Linked DNA regions of Homo sapiens: all the other regions are linked to region 2. Evidence: promoter capture Hi-C in human tissues and cell types (Jung and others, 2019). All regions are on one chromosome and are shown on one strand. The core of a region is centred on a gene start or on the middle of the fragment in contact, and the rest is flanking DNA. Distances in the headings are between cores, read along the strand shown. Region 1 overlaps MACROH2A2 (macroH2A.2 histone). Region 2 holds the start of AIFM2 (AIF family member 2). Region 3 overlaps MACROH2A2 (macroH2A.2 histone).

Region 1 (4,118 bases), core at 1,308-3,807, 61 kb after region 2:
GTCTTTGTAAGCCCACCCACAATCTAGAAAATTGTAGTAGATCTTGGGTAGGCTTGGTCTGCTGGTTGACAGGGTACCGTAACCGACAAATGGAATATAATCTTCAGTAAGTAAAAGCAAATTACAAGGGACAAACGGTCAGGAGCAAAGAAAAGGAAAATGACATTTTCTAGGAAATGTGTTAATATATCAAAGCTCTCTTCCCCAAGGTCAATGGCGTTCTCAGGGGCCGTTTCCTCTGGAGATGAAAAATGAGAAAGTCAGAACAAATTGAAATTGGTTCTATCCATTGATCCTGGTTAGGTCATCATACCAACAGGCAAGATGGCAAAGGAAAGGAGGGCCCAAGAAAGTCCCTAAATATGACAGAAGAAGATATTAAATGAATGCTTGGTTAATATGAAATAGATACAAAACCAGGATTTACTTAATCTAGGTGAAAGAGTGAACAGATTTCAATTTTCTAAAGCATCTGATAACTCCATTACGACCAAGGAGACTATATTAAAAGCTCTGAAATTAGCAACAAAGCCCTTTCTCAACTCTCACCTGTCCCCGAGGTGAATGATTCAAGTTTGGGGCATTTTAGTATATACTTCATATACATTATTTAAAATGCTCATATGTACTTACTACTCCCCTATTTTATACTTCATATGTCGTTTTGCCACCAAAGGATGTAGCTATTCATCAGTTAGGTACAAGCAAAGATGAGAGAAGTGCCTTAGACTATTATCTCTTTGACTGCAAGGCCCAGAGATCAGGCAATGTTGCCATGTTGTTTTATCACGTTGTTTCTTCATCTGGAAGAAACAAGATCTCCCACCTTTGCCGTGCTGCTGCTGTCTGTGGCTGCTCACTCTCATAAATCCACTTGTAGGGGTTTTCTCTTTGAGGAAGCAAGCAACTATGTGTTAGGTAAATGTATGGAGGGCCTGCTGTTAGTCAGCCCTGTCGCAGGAAAGAGGGGAAACAGACAGCATTGCTAAGTGGTCCCTGTCCTCACATAGCACGTGTTTGCTAGCTGGGTTGTGGTGCTCTAAATGGAGGTGGCTCTTGCTATAGTGGAAGGAGCCCAGGACTGCGGAACAGAAAGTCCTGGGCATAGCGCCGCTTCTACATAACTACAGTCATGCACCCCACAATGACCGCATATGACGGTGGTCCTGTATGATCATAATGGAGCTGAAAAATTCCTATGCCCTAGTGACATCTTTTTGTTGTTGTTGTTGTTGTTTGGGAAGGAGTCTTGCTCTGTCCCCTAGGCTGGAGTGCAGTGGTGCAATCTCGGCTCATTGCAACTTCTGCCTCTGGGGTTCAAACGATTCTCCTGCCTCAGCCTCCCAAGTAGCTGGGACTATCGGTGTGCACCACCATGCCTGGCTAATTTTTGTATTTTTAGTAGAGACGAGGTTTCACCATGTTGGCCAGGGTGGTCTCAAACTCCTGACCTCAAGTGATCCATCTTCCTCAGCCTCCCAAAGTGGTGGGATTACAGGTGTGAGCCACCACACCTGGCCAACCTAGTGACATCCTAACGGTGTAGCACAATGCCTTACTCATGTGTTTGTGGTGATGCTGATGTAAACAAACCTACTGTGCTGCCAGTCATATAAAAGTCTAGCACATATAATTATGTATAGTATATAATACTTGATAACAAATGACGATGTTACTGGTACTCCTTCTACTTATTAAAAACAAAGTAAACTGTAAACCAGCCTTAAATGGATCCTTCAGGAGGTATTCCAGAAGGAGGCATTATTATTACAGGAGATGACAGCTCCGTGCGTGTTATTGTCCCTAAAGACTTTCCAGTGGACAAGATGTGAAGGTGGAAGACAGTGTTATTGATGACCCTGACTCTGTGTAGGCCTAGGCTAATGTGTATGTGTCTTATTTTTTTTAACAGAAGTTTAAAAAGTTAAAAAAAATTTTAATAGAAAAATGCTTATAAACTTAAAGTATAATAATAATAAAATAAAAAAAGAAAAATGCTTATAGAGTAAGGCTATAAAGAAGGAAAATATGTGTAGTAGCTGTGCAATGTATTTGTGTTTTAAGCTAAGTGTTATTACAAAAGAGTCAAAAAGTTTAAAAAGGTTAAAAAGTTTATAAAGTAAAAAAAATTACAGTAAGCTAAGGTTAATTTATTATTGGATAATTTATTGGAAAATTTATTATTGGGTAAGGTTAATTTATTATTAAGGAAAATATTCTCTTTTAAATGTAGTGTAGCTAACATGTACGGTATAAAGTCTACAGTAGTGTACAATAATGTCCCGGGCCTTCACATTCACTCACCACTCACTCACTCACCCAGAGTACTTCTAGTCCTGCAAGCTCTATTCACGGCAAGTGCCCTATACATGTGTACTGCTGTTTACATTTTATACTGTATTTTACTGTCCTTTTCTAAGTTTAGAGACACAAAAACTTACCATCACCATTGCCTGCAGTATTCAGTATGGTAAGATGTTGAGCAGGTTTGTAGCCCAGAAGCAACAGATCATAGGATTATAGCCTAGGTGTACAGGAGGCTGTACCATCTAGGTTTGTGAAGTCCACTCTATGCTGTTTGCACAATGACAAAATCACCTAACGATGCATTTCTCAGAACGTACCCCTTTCGTTAAGTGATGCATGACTGTAGTTATGTGAGCTTCATATGTTATTTATTTGGACCTCAGTGGCCTTCTCTGTAAAACAGGGCAGGTGGCTAACATCCTTACAGTTGTTCTGCTCTTAAACATCCTGATTTTTCTGAAAGGCACTTTTCAATGATTTTGGTAGAGAAGCTTAGGCTCTTTAAGCAGTCGGTTCTAAAGACTTAAGAGCCTACACAGGCTCATAAAGGTGCATTAGTGACTCTCCTAAGCCAATTATGTGCTTTTCTCAGTTAATGGTAAGTGGGATTGGAGGATGATTACTAAGTCTGGTTGTCAAGAAACCACCTGAAAAGCCCATCACAGGGTGGACGTGCTCTGTGAATATGGTGTGTGCTGGCTGGTCTTAATCTCTCCCTACCATGCTTCCACCAGAGAATGCTGCATGAAGTACAAACACCACAAGGGCAGGGACACCCCCTGTGCACACGCGCACACACACACACACACTCATGCACATGCACACGCGCGCCCACACACGCATGCACGTGCACACGCATACATGCACGCGCTCACACACACACACACATGCACATGCACACAGACACACACACACACACACACACTTTCCTCAAAACAGCCAGAGAATGACTAGGTGTGCAGGATAAAGCCATTTAGGGACTTTCCTACTATTAGCTGCCAAGAGAAGTCACAAACTGCCCTAAAAATTGGAACTTAGGACTAGGAGTATAAGAAAAGCAAGTGACTTTAGGGGACGGATGCCTAAAACACTCAGGAAGAGGCCAAGCGTGGTGGCTTACGCCTGTAATCCCTACATTTTGGGAGGCTAAGGTGGGTGGATCACCTGAGGTCAGGAGTTTGAGCCTGGGCAACATGATGAAACCCCGACTCTACTAAAAATACAGAATATTAGCCGGGCGTGGTGGCGGGTGCCTGTAATTCCAGCTACTCTGGAGGCTGAGGCAAAAGAATCACTTGAACCCAGGAGGAGGAGGTTGCAGTGAACCGAGATTGTACCATTGCACTCCTGCTGGGCAACGACAGCGAAACTCCGTCTCAAAAACAAACAAACAAACAAAACTCAACACTCATGAAGATAAAATAGCCAAGTAAGGAAAATCAAAGTAGGAACAAGTAGAGAAACATACCACCTGCACATTGTAAAAAAGTACCTAAATGTAAGAATCATCCTGAACATGGTACTTTATAATAAGTTTTTCCCTCTGTGGCTTCCAGACTTCCCTCTAAGTGAGGGCCTTAGAGGAAATCCCCCTGGGTGGGGGATGCAGCTCCATCTGAAGTCTAAGTGTGAGATGGACTGACTTATGCATGTATTTTAAGCAGGACTGGAGAGTCCTCTATGCCTGCCAAACCCATCTTTTCAGGTCTTGTGCGGAATTTAAGCAGCCAGGCACCTATCTCCCAGGCCCTCCTGGGGACTCAGGGCTGTGAGGTCCCTGGACACGGACAGTAAGAATTAGAGCACATCCA
Region 2 (4,374 bases), core at 1-2,500:
GTGCCTGGCCCTTATCCACAACTCTTAAAGTAGGTGCTAATATTTGCAGTAAGTAGATGGAGATGGCTTATCTTTCGCTGAGTTAGCTTGGTCTGATTTGAGCTGGCAATACACTGCCTTCCAGGTCATTGTCCTGCCTGTGGGTCTTTGCACATCCAGACCACACTTCCTTCCTCTTTACCTAAATCTACCTCTTTCTCATCCTTGGAGAGAAGTATTTGCACCCTTCCTTTGCCCTCAGTCTTTCTTTTTTATTTTTTCATTTCATTTCATTTATTATTATTATTATTATTATTTTTTTTTTGAGACAGAATCTCACAGTCACCTAGGCTGGAGTGCAGTGGAATGATCATGGTTCACTGTAGCCTCAAACTCCTGGGCTCAAGCAATCCTCCCACCTCAGCTTCCCGAGAAGCTGGGACTACAGGTGTGCACCAACAAGCCCGGCTAATTTTTGTAGGTCTCGCTATGTTGCCCAGGCTGGTCTCCAACTCCTGGGCTCAAACGATCCTCCCGCCTTGGCCTCCCTAAGTGCTGGGACTGTAGGCATGAGCCACCGTGCCTGGCCATGCCCAATCTTTCTTACTGCAGTTGGTGATACATGGTTTTTGTTTTCTCTATACATGTATTTTTTGGTGGTGTGTTTAATATCTGTCTTTTCCCAGACTGTCGCCTCCGTGAAAGCAGGAACCTTGTCAGTTTTCTCTCCAAGTTATCCCTCCAACGCCTAGCACAGTGCCTGGCAAATGTAGGAGCTCAACAGGGTTTGCGGAATTATTATGTGTATGTCTGAAGGAAGGATGTTGGCAGTGCGCCCAACGTGTGAGGGGAACCCCACTCTCCAAGGTTCCAGTGGCTTTAAAGGTGTCCTCGAGAAAATCAGAGGAACAGGGGGATGCTTGTTTTCCTTCCTTCCTTCTCTCTCTCTCTCTCTCTCTCTCTCTCTCTCTCTCTCTCTCTCTCTCTCTCTCTCTCTTTTTTGCTTTAAAGTATGCTGAAAGGACACTTTAAACCAAGTCTGAATGGCTCGGCAGGACTGGGGCGCGGGTGCTGGCAGGAGCCGGAGAGGCGACATCTGGCCATGGGAGCATTTGTTTCAAAGTTCAAGGCCGTTCGCTCAGGGTCAAGGTTAGTCCGGCGGGCCGTTCGGAGACCAGCCCCAGCGTGCCAGGACCGTTTCCGGGGCCTGGCCGGGGCGTTGCCGCGGGGTCGGGGACCAGCACGAGTGCTGAGTCACGCCCCGCCCGGGAGCGCCTCGGGTCAGTAACTCGGGAAGACGACCAAGCGGGAGCGGGAGCGGGAGCGGGAGCCGGAGCGAGAGCGCGCGGGCGCGGCCGACAGGTGAGATCGCGCCGCCAGGCGGGCTCTCGAGACCCCGGGCGCCCCGGGCGGGACCGGGACCCGGAAGAGGGGCGAGCGGATTAGAGGCCTGGCTCACGCCGCGTCTGGCGTGGGGAGGTCGGTGCGCGCAGTTGTGGCGCTGCGAGGAGAGGGATACTCGACTCAGGCCCGCCCCTCTCTGTCTCCCCCAAAAAACGCAACAGGGAGATGTGCTCCTGGCCGAGGGCAAAGAAAACTCCACCCTCCTGGTTTGGCCCCTAAATCCCTGCTAAGTTTTCCTAAGGAAGATGGGCTTAGGCCGGGAAGGGCGAACCGGGGAAGAGGGAACACGGGGCGGGTGTAACCCGGATCTTGCGAGGACCGTCCGAGGGTCCGCTGGGTAGAAGCGGCCGGTCCGGACAGAAGCAGGTGTGAGAGGAAAGGGAGAAACCTCAGTCTCTAAGAGGAAAGAAACTGGAGTCAACCCAGTGCCCATAGGCTCGGGGGAGCTGGGGGGTGCAGCACTAGGAAGTCTGCTTCTCCCTTCCCGAAGCCCTGGGTGCTGCAGGGACAAAGACCAGCGGTGAGTAAACTAACTCTGATGGGACGCGTGCAGTCCACCTGGAACTGAATTAGTGGCCTATATTGGGGCTCTCCTTCCAACACCACCTGATCAACACACCCTACCTTTCCCTACAAGGAGAGTCTTTTTGACCCTGGAATTTAAGGTGAGGATGGGGAGTGGTGAGGTCTCTTGGGGGCTGATGATCCTGTAGGAGGACAGGCATAGGGCAGAGAGTCAGATATAGTTTGGGATGGGACTTGCAGGTTTCTGGACTGTGCACCTGTGTTCAAAAGCCTGTATCAGGTTCCAGTGTGCGTGCATGCACCTGCCAGAGAGCCCCGGGATCTCAGATCACACCTGCCCTCACCCCAGCACCTAGAGAGGAGTTCTCCAAGGAGCACAGTGTGTCACCAAGAAGAGGGCACTGAGCCCCAGCCAGGGTGGGCTGGGCAGGCTTAGCACTACCTAGCCCAGAAGTGATGGGCTGGGCAGGCCGGTGGACTCCAGGGCCAGCCTGACTTTTGTCTGGTGGCCAAATGAAGCCAGCGTCCAGGTACAGGTGGTGGGCAGACCATGGGGACCACAAAACTGGCTCTGAGGAGGATGGACAAATTGCTTGGCCTAGGTTTTCTGTGCGGGAGTGAATATGACATCCAGATGAACCTGTCTGCCCCAGAGCTGCCCTCCCCTGGGGATAAAAGGAGGCTGCCTCCCTTAGACTTTGAGTCCCTTTTCAGAAACTGGTCTTTTGGGGGTTCTGTTCTTCAAGTAGTCCCTGAGGGGCTGGCCATGGAGTGTCCCAGGAAGGGAGGCCGCCCAACCGTCTCCATCCTGCTGTGTCCCGCAGGTGGAGGAAACCTCCATGGTGCTGTGAGTCGTGCTGTAGTGGCCTTCTTATCCGGGACGGCCACTCTGGGAATGTGGCTCTCCAGAGGCTGATGTTGAAACCTACCCTTTGTGTGAGCCATGACGACTCAAAAAGCATCGTGTTTTATTTGTAATATTTGTGAAGCAATACTGGAGCAACTCTGGGATGACATTCTTGCTTTGATCAGAGCCCACACGGTTCCTGCTGTGTGTCTTCTGAGGCACAACCTCTGAACAGCTTTGGCATAAATGTAACTTCCTGGTTTTTCAGTAGTCCTATGGGCTGCTTATTGTGGAATAATACCCTTGAGATCAGGGTGGATGCTCTTGGCAGAGAAAACAGGATTGACTGAGCAAATTTTTGTGTAAATCAGATTGTGTGTGTGTGTGTCTGTGTGTATGTGTGTTGTGGCAGGGAGCAAAGGTAAAGTTACTGAGGGGTTCCTGGACAATCAGGGTTTGTTCCGCTCTCTTAGGCCTTCTTTTAAGCTAACATTCTTGAACCTAGACAGACATAGTTAAGATTCTCTGTGATTCCCACTGGGGCTTTGGTGTTCAGTTCAAAATCAGATGGTGGATTTAGCAGTTCCTCAAAAAGTTAAACTTCAAGTTACCATATGACCCAGCAATTCCATACCTAAATATATACTAAAGAGGACTGAAGACTGGTTCACACAAAAACCTGTACACAAATGTTCATAGTGGCGTTATTCACATAGTCAAAAGGTGGAAACAACCCAAGTGCCCGTCAGCTGATGAGTGGATAAACAAAATGTGGTCTATTCATACACCAGTAATGGACTGTTTTTCAGCCAGGAAAAGGAATGAAGCACTGATAACATGCTACAACTCGGATGAACCTTGAAAACATGATGATCAGTGGAAGACGTCGCAAACAAAAAGCCACATAGTGTATAATTCCATCTACATGAATTGTCTAGAACAGACAAATCTATAGAGACAGAAAGAACATTAGTAGCTACCCAGGGCTAGGGTAGGTGGGGTACAGGATTTATTTTGGGGGTGATGGAAGTGTTCTGGAATTAGATAGTTGTGATGGTTGCACAACCTGGTGAATACACTAAAACCCACTGAACTTACATCTTTTTTTGAAATTTAAATTAAAAAAAATTTTTTTTTGAGACAGAGTCTTGCTCTGGCGCCCAGGCTAGAGTGCAGTGGCATGATCATGCCTCACTGCAACCTCGACCTCCTAGGCTCAAGCGATCCTCCCACCTCAGCCTCCTGATATCAGGGACCACAGGCATGTGCCACCATGCCTGGCTAATTTTTGTATTTTTTGTAGAGATGGGGTTTCACCATATTGCCCAGGCTGGTCTGGAACTCCGGAGCTCAAGCAATCTGCCTGCATTGGCCTCCCAAAGTGTTGGGATTAGAGGTGTGAGTCAGCCTACATCTCATTTTTTTTTTTTAAAAGATGGGGTCTCATCTAGGCTGGAGTGCAGTGGTGCAATCATAGCTCACTGTGAACTTACATCTTAAGTGGTAAATTGTATATGTGAATTCTATTTTGATTAAAAAATTAGATGGTAAGCGGTCTGTCCTATTATTAAAGACATTATTTCTGCAAAAATGACATATGCTTGTTTGAAAAAAATTCA
Region 3 (4,160 bases), core at 594-3,093, 37 kb after region 2:
ACTGTGCCTGGCTTAAACAAATGTTTAAGAAACTTGACATTTATGATGTAACTGGAATTGGAACACTGGTAATTTGTTGATATTGCTATCTTTTTAAGGGTACAATAATGGTATTGTGGCTGTGTTGTTAGTAAACAGCCCTTATCTGTTACAAGTCATTGTGAAATATTCATAGATAAAATGATGTCTGGAAGTATGTGGAGGGGGTAAGAGCTGAAACAAAGGTGGCCATGGGTGGTGATTATTGCATCTGATTGCATAGGGTTTCATTATACTTTTCTGTTATTTTTTGTGTATGCTTGACTTTTCCCATAATAACATAATGTTTTGAAAAGAGTAAGACAGGGCCTTGGCTGCTGGGATGATTAGTTTGGGTGATGGTGGTGGAAAATGGAATCGTAATGGGAGGGACTCCTCCTAACACAGCAGCAATAAAACCACTGTCAATTACTAACTGCCTAGGAGCCCAGCACTGTGCTAAGCCCCATCACAGCACCCCTATGGGACAGGTACTATTGCTATCCTCCCTTACAGAGGAGGAAACGGAGGTTCAGGGAGGTTTAGAAACCTGCCAAAGGTCAGCTAGGAAGCAATTCAGAAAAGCTGGGACAGTCCAGGCAGGCCGACCTGGAACCTGCCCTCTTAACCACCTGACTGCCTTTAGCCCATTTCTCCTCCCAAGACCCTGAAGCGGTTGGCCTTAGAATCCACTGCTGGGATCTGAGCGTGAATTTTTGCTCCCAGACCAGTGCTCTTTCTACTCTGCCACCATGCCAATTAAAAAAAAGAAGCATATTATTTTTCTTACATAAAAATTTCATTACTATAGAAATGTGTAAAGTATGAACACTGCAATGTGTCAGTGAGAGGCAGGACACCTATTAAAAGAGCTCCAGATGAAGGCTACTAGAGGGCGTCCTTCCATGGAGAGTGGAAGGAGACCTGTTTCTCTGTAATGCTGACTTTTCCCAGGGCTGTCCTATCTCCTTTTCAGCACAGCAAGTGGCCTCTGATGCCAGGAGGAAGCCCTGAGTGAGTCCAGCTGCCTGGGGCCCCTGGTGCTACCAGCCAGGGCTGAACTACTAGCATCTACCTCAAATTGCCTCCCTCACAGGCAAGCCCTGTACCCTAGAGACAAAGCCCCTTCTTTGCTCACTTTACCCTTTCCGTGGAGAGTTTAAGGCAGTTCTGCTTGGTAAAAATGGATGGGATGGGGACTGTTAGCATGCTGTTATTTCCAGCGCCCATAACAGCTTACCCTCCCAAGCTCCTCCACCCTGGCTATTAACAGCTCCCTCTGCCACTCGTGGGACAGGTGGCAAACCACAGGCAAAAATAACTCAATGCTCATAGCTTAATGGACAATCTAATTTTTTTCTAGATGTCCATTTCCCTTTTATCAATAGCACTCTCAATATTTAAGCTTACGATATATGTAAACATGTACAACAATATTTATAGTAGCACTATTCACTATAGCTCAAACTGGAAACTACCCCAAATGTCATCAGTGGTAGAATAGATCAATAAACTGTCATATATTTATAGAGTGTAATACTACAGAGCAAGGAAAATGAATGAATACAAGCATACTCAACGACATGGATAGATTTCACAATACTAAGTTGAGCAAAAGGAGTCGGACCCAGAAGAGGACAAGATTTCATTTTTACAAAATTCAAGACAGATGAAACCCATCTCTGCTTTGATAAGAAAGGACAGTGGTTACCCTTGGAGGAAATACTGACTGGGAGTGGGGCTGAGGGAGACTTCTGGGGTGCTGGTAAGGGTCTGCTTCAGGATCTTGGTGCTGGTTGCAAAGTGGGGTTCACTTTGAGAAAAATTCATCAAGCTCTATGCTAATGATTTGCTTTTACACAATACCCCAATAAAAATTTCAAAAATATATGCAGAATTAAAACAAAGTTAGCTTCTCTCTAGTGAAACTGTTCAACTACACATAAAGACAGAGCTTGACATGGGACCCCAGCGGAGGGACAGCCAGTTGACAATGATCAGCTTCACAAGAACTTGCCTGAACAGTGGCCTATTCTATGGCACTTCTACTGAAGTCTCAGGACCTTACCTATATCTTCTTTGAGGTCAATTTCGGCTGTGGTTGGGTGGACAATGCCCTCCACTCTCATGGAGCCAATATGGCTGATGTCACTCTGGGTTAAGGACAGCTGCATTAGGAAGAAAAGGTGGTGAATGTGGAAAAGATAAAATTCTGTTGAAAAATCTCATATTTTACTTGCATTCATTAATTCTCTTTAATTATTCATACCCAATGTCAACATAGGGGCTGCATAGAGAGTGACAACCTCCAGTTTCCCAGGTGTTTGGCTTGCAATAAGCTCTTTGAGCTCAGTGGATTTGCTTTCCACTCTGGGGCTGGCAGCATGCAACAAATCCATTTCTTCTTCCCTGGAACAGGAACAGGGCCTCCCCTCTCTTTTTTTTTTTTTTTTTGAGACGGAGTCTCACTCTGTCTCCCAGGCTGGAGTGCAGTGGCGTGATCTCGGCTCACTGCAAGCTCTGCCTCCCAGGTTCACGCCATTCTCCTGCCTCAGCCTCCTGAGTAGCTGGGACTACAGGCGCCCGCCACCATGCCCAGCTAATTTTTTGTATTTTTAGTAGAGACGGAGTTTCATCGTGTTAGCCAGGATGATCTTGATCTCCCGACCTCTTGATCCACCCGCCTCTGCCTCCCAAAGTGCTGGGATTACAGGCGTGAGCCACCGCGCCTGGCCCCCTCTCCTTTCTTTCTTTCCCTTACAGCTCATGCCTTTGGTTCCCAACCCTGGTGGCCTTAGTTTTCAGTGATGCATCTTCTGAGAAGCTCCTGCAAGGAAGCCCAGGGCTTGCTCTCTCTTCTCCCCTCAGCATCCTGCATTCTCCCTAGAAGAACACAAAATCTGTGGGGCAGGGCTCTGAAGCCAATAACCTTGCTGGAGAGAAGTAATGGGCTCTGGGATTCTGACCTGGGGGTGTCTGGCTCCCTTGCCCTTTGGAGACCACAGTCTTGGGGCTACCATTGGGAATTGCTATCCTATGTGTTCACAGTAGAGTGGAATGGAGGGCATTCTCTATTGTTGGCCCATGTGAGCAAGACCTTTATGTTGCCTTAGCTAAGTGAGAGAAAGCTAATCGTCATGTAACAGTGAACAGGCCAGAGAGGGGACATAAATTCCACCTCTTTGTTTCCCTGCTTTCATCAGTGACGAATTAGCAACCAGCCACACCGATGCTCTTCTTAGAACATACTCTTCCCAATTCTTTGAATGGAGGCTTACTGTGTTGTCAAGATGGAAACATTCAGCTACCAGAGATATGATTAACTGACTCTTTCCTTGGGTGTCTTATTTCAGCCCCAGTTGACTTGGTAGATAAATTGTCTGCTCAGTAAACTTTACACTTGTAGGAATGAATTATTTGCATGTCTGGTTGGGCTGCTGTTGTGTTGCTGAAGACTGTTCAAATGCATAGCCCTGTTTGTTTACTTTCTAAAGCCTAGGAAGGCAGGCAGACTGAATTATTGGCAAATAATTCATTTCTAATACCAAGGATATTTGGGAAACATATATTTCTATTTTCTTTCTTTGATAAATTACATTGAACCATGTAAGATGGGCCTCTCAGAAGCTGTCTGAGAAAGTTAGCTATGGATTTTTTTTTTGGCAGATGTAGAAATAACTGGGGTGTGGGGAATTCCCAGCAAAACCAGTAATGCCATCCTATCTACTGACCAGAAAGAGCTTCCATGCTCACCCTTGTCTGACCAATGTTAGCGTTAACAATTCTCAGCAAAAAAGAACAATTCTCACTCTCACAATGCTGACACTGCCACAGCTCTTTAGTTTAAAAATGAATAATTCAAGACTGCAGTGAAAATCATTATCAGGGGAGGAAAGGAGGCATCATTGCTTGTAAACAGTAGGTTATAAAAATACAGTGGTGTTTTAATATAGCACAAGGCAATTCTCTTTGTTACCTTCTGTCCCAGAACAAGGCTCTTAGAAGACAGAATGGTGAATCCATCCCCTGGCCCATCTTCAGAGGTGGAATTTGAAGTTCCTTCTTTATCGCTGTCCTTTGGTTTGGACTGTCGGTAAAAATCAAAAGGCAAGATGAGAACCAATCCAGAAAAAGCCTGAGGT

The links. The method cuts DNA at HindIII sites, captures the fragments that hold promoters and counts their contacts. A contact is called where the count stands out against the background at its distance.
Region 1: a contact is called between a fragment that was not itself captured here and the fragment with the promoter of AIFM2 in region 2, in 1 of the 25 tissues and cell types used here (H1 embryonic stem cells).
Region 3: a fragment that was not itself captured here is called in contact with the fragment with the promoter of AIFM2 in region 2 in 1 of the 25 tissues and cell types used here (IMR-90 fibroblasts).

Annotation. Positions count from the first base shown.
Region 1 is chr10:70,070,077-70,074,194 of GRCh38, reverse strand. The region is part of intron 1 of MACROH2A2 (macroH2A.2 histone); the gene reads right to left. Among named protein-coding and RNA genes, the nearest start is that of MACROH2A2, 19 kb to the right of the region's middle. RefSeq lists an enhancer at 2,637-3,136. The HindIII fragment of the contact is 6,286 bases long and covers 1-4,118 here.
Region 2 is chr10:70,129,701-70,134,074 of GRCh38, reverse strand. It overlaps AIFM2 (AIF family member 2), which reads left to right and starts at 1,250. Exons shown (of 9, transcript NM_032797.6): 1 at 1,250-1,341. RefSeq lists silencers at 1,076-1,395, 1,228-1,437 and an enhancer at 959-1,459. The HindIII fragment of the contact is 11,395 bases long and covers 1-4,374 here.
Region 3 is chr10:70,093,680-70,097,839 of GRCh38, reverse strand. It overlaps MACROH2A2 (macroH2A.2 histone), which reads right to left. Exons shown (of 9, transcript NM_018649.3): 5 at 3,995-4,105; 6 at 2,087-2,186. Among named protein-coding and RNA genes, the nearest start is that of AIFM2, 37 kb to the left of the region's middle. The HindIII fragment of the contact is 4,428 bases long and covers 1-4,057 here.